Linked DNA regions of Homo sapiens: all the other regions are linked to region 3. The links are contacts of gene promoters, found by promoter capture Hi-C in human tissues and cell types (Jung and others, 2019). All regions are on one chromosome and are shown on one strand. Each heading gives the region's core, a stretch centred on a gene start or on the middle of the fragment in contact. The rest is flanking DNA. Distances are from core to core; before and after follow the strand shown.

Region 1 (4,186 bases), core at 1,362-3,861, 470 kb after region 3:
ATTAAACCAGAATGTGAGCAGCATGACAGTAAATCTGCTTAAGAGATTGCAAAGACAGAAAGAGAGTTCAGCAGGCTCACTAAGCCTGAGCAGTGATTCAGGCTCAGTTTCTACTTACAATGGTGACATGGAAAAAATACTGCTGGGTTTGGCTGAGTGCAGTGGCTCACACCTGTAATCCCAGCACTTTGGGAAGGAGGCAGGCAGATCACCAGGTCAAGAGATCGAGACCATCCTGGCCAACATGGTGAAACCCCATCTATACTAAAAATAGGTAAATTAGCTGGGTGTGGTGGTGCATACCTGTACTCCAAGCTACTAAGGAGGCTGAGGCAGGGGAATCACTTGAAACCAGGAGGCGGAGGTTGCAGTGAGCCGAGATCGCGCCACTGCACTCCAGCCTGGCGACAGAGTGAGACTCTTTGTCTCCAAAAAAAAAAAACTGTTGGGTTTTCAGCATGAGTTCAGATGATGATAACTCCGAGAGTTTTCATCGTGCATTCACAGGCACCATGGGACACTAACAGAGCTTCTGAAACAGACACCCAAAGCATTAGAAAGAAAAACAGCTCTCCATTTGAGTAACACTGTATTGAGAAAAAAAAAAAGAAGTTCAAAGCATCTTAAGAAAAAACTTAGATTAGATGAAAGATTGATCAAGTCAACCAAAAATACTCCCCTTAAACAAATTTCTCTCTAAACGAAGTGCACAGCTACTCTCAGCACAAGAAACATGAGCATTATGAAAAAAATATATATTCTCAGCAGAATTTTCTAAGGTTTCTCTTCCATGTCTGCTGCTGTCTCATCTCCTAGCCATTGGATGGGAGTTCCATATTGGAATACATCTCACAATTTCCACATGCACCTTTTGATGAAGAATTGAAATCTTGAGTTTATTCATATAGTGTAATATATTCAAGCTTGCAACACTGCTAACTGAAGAGCTACTATGTGGTTTTTTTTTTTTTGAAATGAAGTTTCCCTCTTGTTGCCCAGGCTGGAGTTCAATGGTGCGATCTTGGCTCACTGCAACCTCCGCCTCCCAGGTTTAAGTGATTCTCCTGCCTCAGCCTCCCAAGTAGCTGGGATTACAGGCATGCACCACCATACCTGGCTAATTTTTCTATTTTTGGCAGAGACAGGGTTTCTCCATGTTGGTCAAGCAGGTCTTGAATTCCCAACCTCAAGTGATCCACCCACCTTGGCCTCCCAAAGTGCTGGGATTACAGGTGTGAGCTACTGCGCCTGGCCATTTTTTTTTTTTTTTTGAGATGGAGTTGAGCTTTTGTTTCCCAGGCTGGAGTGCAATGGCACAATCTCGGCTCACTGCAACCTCCGCCTCCCAGGTTCAAGCAATTCTCCTGTCTCAGCCTCCCAAGTAGCTAGGATTACAGGCATGCACCACAATGTATGGCTAATTTTGTATTTTTAGTAAAGTTGGAGTTTCTCCATGTTGGTCAGACTGGCCTTGAAATCCCAACCTCAGGTGATCCACCCGCCTCAGCCTTCCAAAGTGCTGGGATTACAGGCGTAAGGCACCGTACCCAGCCTCTGAAGAGCTACTATATTTTTTGAGTGGCCACCTGACCTGTTTTTATCTGTCCTGTAATAGCAGCATTCCAATTTAGTTAAATGAAAGACACTAAAATTAAGCTTCCCTGTAATTATCCATATTGGATAAATTAATAAGCATGTCAGACTAATATCTATTGTAACAATTTGGTAGTGACTTTTCTTTGGATATTAGATATAAATATCTAAGTATAACCAACTTTAATGTACTAGTCATAATGTATGTAGTATTCTAAAAAATTGTTTGTAACCATATTTCAGTTAAAACTACTTTATATTTCAAAGTATGAGTAAGAATATTAAAATAACTATTTAGGCTAGGCATGGTGATTCATGCCTGTAATCCCAGCACTTTGGGAGGCCAAGGCGGGCATACCACAAGGTCAGGAGATTGAGACCATCCTGGCTAACACGGTGAAACCCCATCTCTCATAAAAATACAAAAAATTAGGCCAGGCGCGGTGGCTCATGCCTGTAATCCCAATACTTTGGGAAGCTGAGGCGGGTGGATCACCTGAGGTCAGGAGTTCGAGACCAGCCTGACCAACATGGAGAAACCCTGTCTCTACTCTAAAAGTACAAAATTTAGCCAGGCATGGTGGCACATGCCTGTAACCCCAGCTACTCAGGAGGCTGAGGCAGGAGAATCACTTGAACCCAGTAGGCGGAGGTTGCAGTAAGCTGAGATCATGCCATTGTACTCCAGCCTGGGCAACAGGAGTGAAACTCCGTCTCAAAAAAAGTAAATTTAAGGAAAAAAAAAAAATACAGCCGGACGCGGTGGCTCACGCCTGTAATCCCAGCACTTTGGGAGGCCGCAGCGAGCAGATCACGAGGTCAGGAGATCGAGACCATCCTGGCTAACACGGTGAAACCCCGTCTCTACTAAAAATACAAAAAAATAGCCGGGTGCCCTGGCGGGCGCCTATACTCCCAGCTACTTGGGAGGCTGAGCCAGGAGAATGGCGTGAACCAGGGAGGCGGAGATCGCAGTGAGCCAAAATGGCGCCACTGCACTCCAGCCTGGGCGAAAGAGAGAGACTCTGTCTCAAAAAAAAAAAAAAAAAAAAAAAAAAAAAAAAATTAGCCGGACGTGGTGGCACGTGCCTGTAGTCCCAGCTACTCCAGCTACTCAGGAGGCTAAGGCAGGAGAATCGCTTGAACCCATGAGGCAGAGGTCACAGTGAACCGAGATCGTGCCACTGCACTCGAGCCTGGGTGACAGAGTGAGACTCCATCACAAAGGAAAAAAAAACAAAAAACACCACACACAAAAAAAACTACACAGACTCCAAGGTTGAGTTTACACACTGAACTGTTCTTGCTTTTGCAGTGTAAGTACTTCAGCCTGCAAATATTAGATTACCTTGGATTATCAGTTTTCTGTCAAAGAAATTTATTCAGTATTTTTTAGTTTTTACCATTCTGTATTTCTAAATTTAATTCGTTCTTCGTACTAAACTTCTGTGTGCTCTTAAAATGAGCTTTAATCTAAACAAATCTGTGTCTACTTTAAAAGACTAAAAAAAAAATTAAATTTTCCCAAATCAAGGATAAGCAATGAATCTGAGGTCTTAAATAAAGACAATCTTGAGTCAAAAGAATGCCAAAAGATTTGGCTGTTAATATGATTTAAATATATTTCAAAAAAGCAATAAAAATATCTCCATATAATCTAAATGCTTTAAGATAAAAGAGTTGAACAAGATAGTCTCTCTTATTTTCAGGTAGGATAATAAAGCCTCTGATTTATATTTTCTTTTACAACAGCCAGGTCTCTGGACATATTGAACTCTTGAACATCTGAATTTCAGTAGACATTGGATTCATTGAGCTCCGTCTCAAAAAACAAAAAAACACAAAACCTGACATCATAAAAGAACAAGAGAAGAAAAAGCAAACTGACCTCTAAGCTAACAGAGGACAAGAAATGAAAATCAGATCTGAACTGGAGAGTTAGACAAAAAAATGATAAAAATATGGAGAAGGCTGGGTGCAGTGGCTCACCCCTGTAATCGCAGCATTTTGGGAGGCCGAGGTGGGCAGATCACTTGAGGTCTGGAGTTCGAGACCAGCCTGGCAAAATAGTGAAACCCGGTCTCTACTAAAAATACAAAAATTGGCCATGTGTATTGGTGGGCACCTGTAATCCCAGCTACTCAGGAGGCTGAGGCAGGAGAATTGCTTGAACCAGGGAGGCGGAGGTTGCAGTGAGGCGGAGGTTGCAGTGAGGCAAGGTTGTGCCACTGCACTCCAGCCTGGGCAATAGAGAGAGATTCTGTTTCAAAAACAAAATGAAAAAAAAAAACAAAACAAAAAACAAACAAACAAACAAAAAAAGAAATCCAGGAGTAAAATCTTTGAAAGAATTAATAAGATAAATAGCACTCTAGAGAGATTAATGAAGAAAGAGAAGATCCAAATAAACACGATTAGAAATGACAAAATGGCCATTAACACTGACCCAACAACAACAAAATAATTATTCAAGTCTGTAACGAACACCTCTATGTAAACAAACCGGAAAATCTAGAATAGATCAATTCCTAGACACGTACATCCTCCAAAGACTGAAAAAAAAAAAAAAAGTATCCCTGAAGAGACCAACAAG
Region 2 (3,840 bases), core at 464-2,963, 370 kb after region 3:
CTCTCATATCTGATGCAGCAACAATTGATCACATGCTTTCACATGTAAATAGGAGTGAAGAAAAGGCAGGAAATAATTTAAGAGTTGAATTACATTATTACTCACTTTTCAAAAAATCTAATTTTTTCAAAAAGTTAAGCATACTTTGAATGCAATAACTGCAAAAAATTTCTACTTTTAAAGTTATATACAAATATTTTACCAATTTTAGTTTTAGATTATTTTCTATACTCAGCACTCTGATTTAGTAAAATACCTGAAGCATCAGTGCCTTACATATTTCTACTGTAAATTCTCTGATATTTACAGACTTAATGATTAAAATTTTTAAAAAATTTTTCCTGTATCTGCAAAAATATGTTTTAGTATGAACTCTCTGGTGTTTTCTAAGCTGTAGTTTTTGAAAAAGTATTTTTCCAACTTTATTACATTCGCACAGTTTTTTTCAATATAAATTCCCTGATATTGAACAAAGTTTGAGCAACTGCTTCAGAGGTTTCCTCTAATACAAAACGTGTACAGTAAGATCTGTGATACAAGTAAACATATTACAATTCTACTACAATGTTCTTCTTCAAAATACTCTTCACTTTAAAAGCTTATATTTTCTTAAAGATATTTTGACAGTAGTTGCACTTATGTTTTTATTGAGTATGAACTCTCTGATGTTGAGTAAGATGTGAGCATGTATTAATGGCTTTTTCACAGTCTTTATATTTGTACAATATTTCTCAAGTATAAATGCTTTCCTGTGAAGGTGTGAGCATTAGTTAAAAGTTTTGTCACACTGTTCACACATGTAGAAGTTTTCTCCAGTATAACTTACCTTACCTACAATCAAGTGTGACAACCATTTAAAACTTTATCACATTCTTCACATTTCTAGGATTTCTCAACACTATGATTTATGTTTTGAAAAGTTTGAGGTGTTTTCAAAGCACTGTCACATCTTTCTGGTTTGTAGAATTTCTCTCTAGTATGAATTATCTTATGTCTGTTAGGAATTGAGAATTTATTAAAGGCTTTGCCATATTCTTCACAGTCACAGGAGTTCCCTCCAGTATGAATTTTTTTATGTTTAGTAAGAGTTGAGGACTGGTAAAAGGCTTTGCCACATTTTTCACATTTGTAGGGTTTCTCTCCAGTATGAGTTATTTTGTTTAATAAGGCTTAGGGACTGGTTAAAGTCTTTACCACATTCTTCCCATTTGTAAGATTTCTCTCCAGTATGAGTTATCTTATGTTTAGTAAGGGTTGAGGATCGGTTAAAAGCTTTGCCACATTCCTCACATTTGTAGGGTTTCTCTCCAGTATGAATCATCTTATGTGCAGTTAGTTGTGAGGACCGGTTAAAGGCTTTGCCACATTCGTCACATTTGTAGGGTTTCTCTCCAGTATGAATCATCTTATGGGTAGTAAGGTTTGAGGACTCATTAAAAGCTTTGCCACATTCTTCACATTTGTAGGGTTTCTCTCCAGTATGAATTCTCTTATGTTTAGTGAGGGCTGAGGACCAGTTAAAGCCTTTGCCGCATTCTTCACATTTGTAGAATTTCTCTCCAGTATGACTTGTCTTATGTTTAGTAAGGTATGAGAATCGGTAAAAAGCTTTGCCACATTCTTCACATTTGTAAGGTTTCTCTCCAGCATGAGTTATCTTATGTGTAGTAAGGGTTGAGGACTGGTTAAAGGCTTTGCCACATTCTTCACATTTGTAGGGTTTCTCTCCAGTATGAATTATCCTGTGTGTAGTAAGGTGTGAGGACCGGTTAAAAGCTTTGCCACATTCTGTACATTTGTAGGGTTTCACTCCAGTATGAATTCTTTTATGTGTAGTAAGGTGTGAAGACCGGTTAAAAGCTTTCCCACATTCTTCACATCTGTATGGTTTCTCTCCAGTATGAATTATCTTATGTGTAGTAAGGTGTGAGGACCGGTTAAATGCTTTCCCACATTCTTCACATTTGTAGGGTTTCTCTCCAGTATGAATTCTCCTGTGTGTAGTAAGGGTTGAGAACCAGTTGAAGGCTTTGCCACAATCTTTACATTGGTAGGAATTCTCTGTAATATGAAATCTTTTATGTTGAGTTAGGTGTAAAAGCATGCAAAATGATTTTTCACATTTTTTACATTTGAAAGGTTTCTTTCTAGTATGTCTTATCTTATGTCTGTTTGAATTTGAAAATGTATGAAAGACTTTTGCAGATGGATCACATTGAAATATGTTGCTCTGGGTAGTTATCAAACACTGGTTTAATTTGTTATCATGTTCTTTGTGCACTTTACACTCATCCACACTTTTACAGCCTTTTTGTAACTGTAAATTGTCATGTCCATATTTTCCATATTTTTTCAGAATCGCTTCTTGAAAAGAATCTTTAATGTCCTGCTCTGCCCAAAGGTCTTGGGGAAAATGAGAACATATAACTGAAAGAAATAAAAATAACAAATTACTTTACTTACTAGACACAGATAGTTTACAAATCTAACCTCTAATATACAAACTACATAAATAAGATGGCATAGGAAAATACCAAAGGCCCTCATTCCTTTATAGACATATAAATGTAAAAAAAAAAAAACCAACCAAATTACATCTGAAAAAAATTATAAATGAGTTAAGTGTGTGAAGTGCCCCTGGTGAGAACAATGCAAAGAGCCACTTAGAAGTAAAAGTCTGTACATTTACCCAACAGAGCTCTTTCTGCTCCCCAATATAACATACTGTCTTTAGAAGTAAATTGCCAACTTGTTTTTAATGACAAGTAAAATACTGGCACATTTATCTTTATTACTTGCTTCTAGGAGCCTTTCCAGACACTGGTTTGTGTCTCTCTTGAAATATAATGCTGAAAGAAACGGTGGTATACTTTGGAGTGACAGTCTTAACTTTGCTGAGACCAAAGGTAAATGTTTCAGCAACAGAGAGACTGCTGTACCACAGACAGAAAACAGGTGTAGCACGTGATTATTATTAAGAAGAAACATGAATAAACTCCTTTAACTAAAAGAGAAAGACAAAATCTCAGACAAGACACATTCTAAGAACATGTTTGAGAGACTCCCAGAATCTCTAACCAAGACGATTGTTCAGACTATGCCAGGACAAAGCTACATTATAAAGATTGTGACAGGTAGCCTTTTTTAATGTCCAAATTTCAATCAAGGATTACAATGTATACAAAATAAGGCAATATGGTTCCATAAAAATATAAAATTTTAAAAAAGAAACTATAAAAAAGATGTATACACACCGATTTTAAAAATTGAAAATAAATTGAATAATACTCAGTGAGTGAAACAGGAAGACAGAGAACTATAGAAAATCAGAAAAATGAAGATAAGAACATAAATATTTAGAATATCAAAAAAACAAATTGTGGAGGTAATAAATATAAAAAAGAATAGCTGAAAAATATTGAAAGAAACGATGTAAAGATGAAGAAGCTCAACAAACAAACTAGGAAACACACAAAGATATTTATAACAAACACATATATAAGCACAATTTCAAAAGTCACAGACAAGAGAACCTTGGGAGCTGCAAGATAAAAGTGATGCGTCATTTGCCAGCATAGTCTTATGAGACAGCCAGTGAATTGTCAATAAAAATTTTGCAGGCCAGAAGGGAAGTGTGTAATAAAGTCAAACTCCTGTAAAATACAGCAATCAAGTAAGCATAATACTATCAGCAAATCTGTCCTGCCAAATAAAAAGAAAATAACTTTCAAAAGTAACAAAATTCTGAAAAGTATATTGGAACTCCATAAACCCTACATACAAAATGTACTGAAAGCAGTTGCTTCTATTGAAAATAACATGATTCAACAAAAACAACAC
Region 3 (4,283 bases), core at 30-2,529:
GCTTGGTCTGAACCGCGATATGCTAGAAAGGTAAAACACAGAGTTATTTTCAAAAATTTAGTTGCAAATATTTATATACTTCATTAATAATTACATATTCCTCACACATTAAAATGATATTTTGTATATATTAGGTTAATTACATTGTTACAATCAATTCAACCTGTTCCTTGTTATTGTTGTTGTTGTTGTTGCTGTTGTTGCAGTCTGTCACTAGGCTGGAGTGCAGTGGCGCAATCTCGGCTCACTGCAACCTCTGCCTCCCGGGTTCAAGCGATTCTCCTGCCTCAGCCTCCCCAGTAGCTGGGATTACAGGCATGCGCCACCACGCCTGGCTAATTTTTATATTTTTTTCAGTAGAGACAGGGTTTAGCCATATTGCCAGGAGGGTCTCAATCACTTGATCTCGTGATCCACCAGCCTCGGCCTCCCAAAGTGCTGGGATTACAGGCGTGAGCCACTGCGCGTGGCCTCTTGTTTCTTTATATTTTTCACCCCCCAAAACGGAGTCTCGCTCTGTCCGCCCAGGCTGGAGTGCAGTGGCGCGATCTCTGCTCACTGCAACCTCCTCCGCCTCCCGGGTTCAAGCAATTCTCCTGCCTCAGCCTCCTGCGTAGCTGGGATTACAGATGTCCACCACCACGCCCGGCTAATTTTTGTATTTTTAGTAGAGACGTGGTTTCACCATGTTAGCCAGGCTGGTCTCAAACTCCTGACCTCTTGATCTGCCCGCCTTGTACTCCTAAAGTCCTAGGATTACAGGCGTGAGCCACCATGCCTGGCCCCTTGTTTCTTTTTAATTTTCTAGTTTGGCTACCAGAAAATTCAAAATTCACGTGGCTCACATTTTATTTCAGAGGATTACCTCCTTTTTAAAATCTCAGGCTGCCTGCTCAAAGGACCGTAAGCCAGGAAAGTAAAAAAACCCTGAAATTTTAAAACATTTGTTATTATATCCTTTTCATTTATGTATAGCCATATGATATAGTATTTACAAATGCATATGACCTTATACGCAAGGTTGAATGCAAATACCCTTTGGGGTGGGCCTATCTCAGCTCAAGGAGGAAGCCCTGCCTGAAAAGGCTGCAGCCTAGGCGGTCACTCTTTCTTCATTCAGCCCAGCATCTAATTACATCTTCTGTCAGTCAGGGCCTGAGAGGGTGGGGTTTTAAACGTTATCCAATCAGCGACGCTGGGCTGGGAACTGTCCAATCAGGCACGCAGCTTGAGCGGAGAGGACGGCTTCCGGGATGTGGCGGGATTTGTCCGCTTCTTTGTCTTTGGCTGCCGCTGGAACTCCGGGTCTCGTCTTCACTGCTCTGTGTCCTCTGCTCCTAGAGGCCCAGCCTCTGGTCCTGTGACCTGCAGGTATTGGGAATCCACAGCTAAGACGCCGGGACACCCTGGAAGCCTAGAAATGGTGAGAGTGCGGGGTCCAACATCCCGAGAGAGGGGAAGGGCTGGTTGGAACCGGTGGGAAGTGGCTGTGGCGAGACTCAGGCCTCCCCGCAGTCAGCTCTACAATCTGCGCCCCGAGTTCTCCTTGCCCAGCTCGGCCTCAGTCGCCTTCAGCCATAAGATGGCGGTTGCGCCGACAGCCCGGCCCCCGGGCGTCCTGTCTCTTCCCTGCATAGTGACTGTGCCCTTGCCTGGAGCCCTCTCTGGGGAATCTCTGCACCCGCAGCGCCGCTTCTCTACCGGATTGTGCAGGGACCGTGGGAGGGTCGTCAGGGGAGAATCCTGACTTGGGGTGCGGGTTCATGAATGGGAAGAGGTTTGTTCCGTGGGGTTCCCAGTTCCTATTATCTCCTATTAAAAGTTAATGGGAGTCACTGCAAAAATATTAAAAGAATTTAATCAAAGAGTGGTTCTAGGCTGGGCGCGGTGGCTCACGCCTGTAATCCCAGCACTTTGGAAGGCCGAGGTGGGCGGATCAGAGGTCAGGAGATCAAGACCATCCTGGCTAACACGGTGAAACCCCGTCTCTACTAAAAATACAAAAAATGAGCCGGGCGTGGTGGCGGGCGCCTGTAGTCCCAGCTACTCAGGAGGCTGAGGCAGGAGAATGGCGTGAACCCAGGAGGCAGAGCTTGCAGTGAGCCGAGATCGTGCCACTGCACTCCAGCCTGGGCGACAGAGCGAGACTCTTGTCTCAAAAAAAAAATTAACTTATTAAATAATTTAATCAAAAAGTGGTTCTAGAATTGTAGAGCACCAAGCTGTGGTTTTTAGTTTGTGGTCTATGGGAGAGGCTTGAAAGAAAGTCTTTTGTAAAATGCATGATGAAGAAAACCAAATTTAGTAATTGGTTAGGTACAGTTACGTGGTTTTTTAATTTGTACATTAAAGGTGAAAATTTCCTGGTTATGTAATCGGAGCTCAATTGGCAGTTTATAGTAGGTGAAGCCTCAATTTTGTTTCTCTGAATTTAGTAATTAAAAATAATGCGCCTGAGTTAGATTTTTTAAATTGAAGTAGGAACCCAGGGACTAGAGAAACCTCAGTCTAATTGCCTGCCACTTAATTATTTTCACACTCCACAGGGAACTGATTTTCTGCTGCATTTTTCACCTGGGTCCCAATCAGGGTCTTAAGTCTAACCCCCATCCCTCATTACTCCAACCTCATTCTTGCTTGCAGTAAGATACTAAATTTCCAATTTCTTCTGGGGTTCCCAAATGCCAGCTTTTCCTCCCTAATTCACATTATCACGTATTTGTGTTTTTTTGTTTGTTTTGTTTTGTTTTTGAGATGGAGTCTCGCTCTGTCTCCCAGGCTGGAGTGCAATGGCGCGATCTCGGCTCACCTCAACCTCCGCCTCCCGGTTTTAAACAATTCTCCCACTTCAGCCTCCTTAGTAGCTGGGATTACAGGTGCGCGCCATCATACCTGGCTAATTTTTGTGTTTTTGTAAAGACGGGGGTTTCACCATGCTGGCCAGGCTGGTCTCGAACTCCTGACCTCAGGTGATCCGCCCGCATCAGCTTGCCAAAGTGCTGGAATTACAGGCGTGAGCCACCGGGCCTGGCCACTTATTTTGTAGTGTACTTTTTTATACCGTATTTTAATTAATTATTTTTTGGCAAGGCATTAAATGGTGCTTTTTTCTTTTCTTTTTTTTTTGAGACGGAGTTTCACTCTTGTTGCAAAGGCACATTCTCGGCTCACCACAACCTCCGCCTCCGGGTTCACGAGGTTCTCATGCCTCAGCCTCCCAAGTAGCTGGGTTTACAGGCATGCACCACCACGCCCAGCTGATTTTGTATTTTTAGAAGAGATAGGGTTTCTCCATGTTGGTCAGGCTGGTCATGAACTCCCGACCTCAGGTGATCCGCCCGCCTTGGCCTCCCGAAGTGCTGGGATTACAGGCGTGAGCCACTGCGCCCTGCATAAATGGTGTTTTGGGGGTTTTTTTGTTTGTTTTTTGTTTTGAGACGGAGTTTTGCTCTTGTTGCCCAGGCTGGAGTACAGTGGCATGGTCTCGGCTCACCGCAACTTCTGCCTCCCGGGTTCAGGCGATTCTCCTGCCTCAGCCTCCGAGTAGCTGGGATTACAGGCATGTGCCAGCCACCACGCCCGGCTAATTTTTTATTTTTAGTAGAGACAGGGTTTCTCTATGTTGGTCAGGCTGGTCTCGAACTCCCGACCTCAGGTGATCCGCCCGCCTCGGCCTCCCAAAGTGTGGGGATTACAGGCGTGAGCCACCACACCCAGACCAATGGTACTTTTAAGAAGGTTTGTTATCTGTTTGTAAATATTTTCCATGAAAAGAAAGCAAATAATAATCCCCTGACACTGTGTTGCAAAAAATCTCTGTGTGTCTTTTCCTTTTATCTTTCTAGGCACAGAGATGTTATCGGAATTTTTTTGGGTCAGAGTTCTGCTTTGGAAAATTTATGGGGTGATGTGTCCTCAGCCACCGTTTAGTTTTTTCCCGGTCCTGGGTTTCAGTATTATCTGGGGATAAACCGAGATATCTGCCATGGTTATGTCAGCTAGAGTGTCTAGTGGATATCAGCTTCTGGTTTATTTTCTCCCATAGGACGACCTGAGGTATGGAGTGTATCCTGTCAAGGGGGCAAGTGGATACCCTGGGGCTGAGAGGAATCTTCTGGAGTACTCTTATTTTGAAAAGGTAACCCCTTGATATGTTAAAATTGTCTTTGGGACCAGCTTGAAAAACATGCTCTACTAAAAATACAAAAAACTTAGCCAAGCATGGTGGTGCATGCCTGAATTTCCAGCTACTCGGGGTTGCTGAGGCAGGACAATCACTTGAT

The links. The method cuts DNA at HindIII sites, captures the fragments that hold promoters and counts their contacts. A contact is called where the count stands out against the background at its distance.
Region 1: a fragment that was not itself captured here is called in contact with the fragment with the promoter of ZNF738 in region 3 in 1 of the 25 tissues and cell types used here (H1 embryonic stem cells).
Region 2: a contact is called between a fragment that was not itself captured here and the fragment with the promoter of ZNF738 in region 3, in 1 of the 25 tissues and cell types used here (mesenchymal stem cells).

What each region holds. Positions count from the first base shown.
Region 1 is chr19:21,826,408-21,830,593 of GRCh38, forward strand. The region is part of intron 1 of ZNF43 (zinc finger protein 43); the gene reads right to left. It also overlaps the pseudogene BNIP3P27. Among named protein-coding and RNA genes, the nearest start is that of ZNF43, 7.7 kb to the right of the region's middle. The HindIII fragment of the contact is 5,891 bases long and covers 1-4,186 here.
Region 2 is chr19:21,725,563-21,729,402 of GRCh38, forward strand. It overlaps ZNF100 (zinc finger protein 100), which reads right to left. Exons shown (of 5, transcript NM_173531.4): 5 at 1-2,427. The coding sequence ends at 1,121. Among named protein-coding and RNA genes, the nearest start is that of ZNF100, 40 kb to the right of the region's middle. The HindIII fragment of the contact is 4,592 bases long and covers 1-3,840 here.
Region 3 is chr19:21,357,721-21,362,003 of GRCh38, forward strand. ZNF738 (zinc finger protein 738) reads left to right here and starts at 1,280. Exons shown (of 5, transcript NM_001355237.2): 1 at 1,280-1,423; 2 at 4,046-4,138. The coding sequence starts at 1,421. RefSeq lists enhancers at 1-550, 1,342-1,641. The HindIII fragment of the contact is 7,981 bases long and covers 1-4,283 here.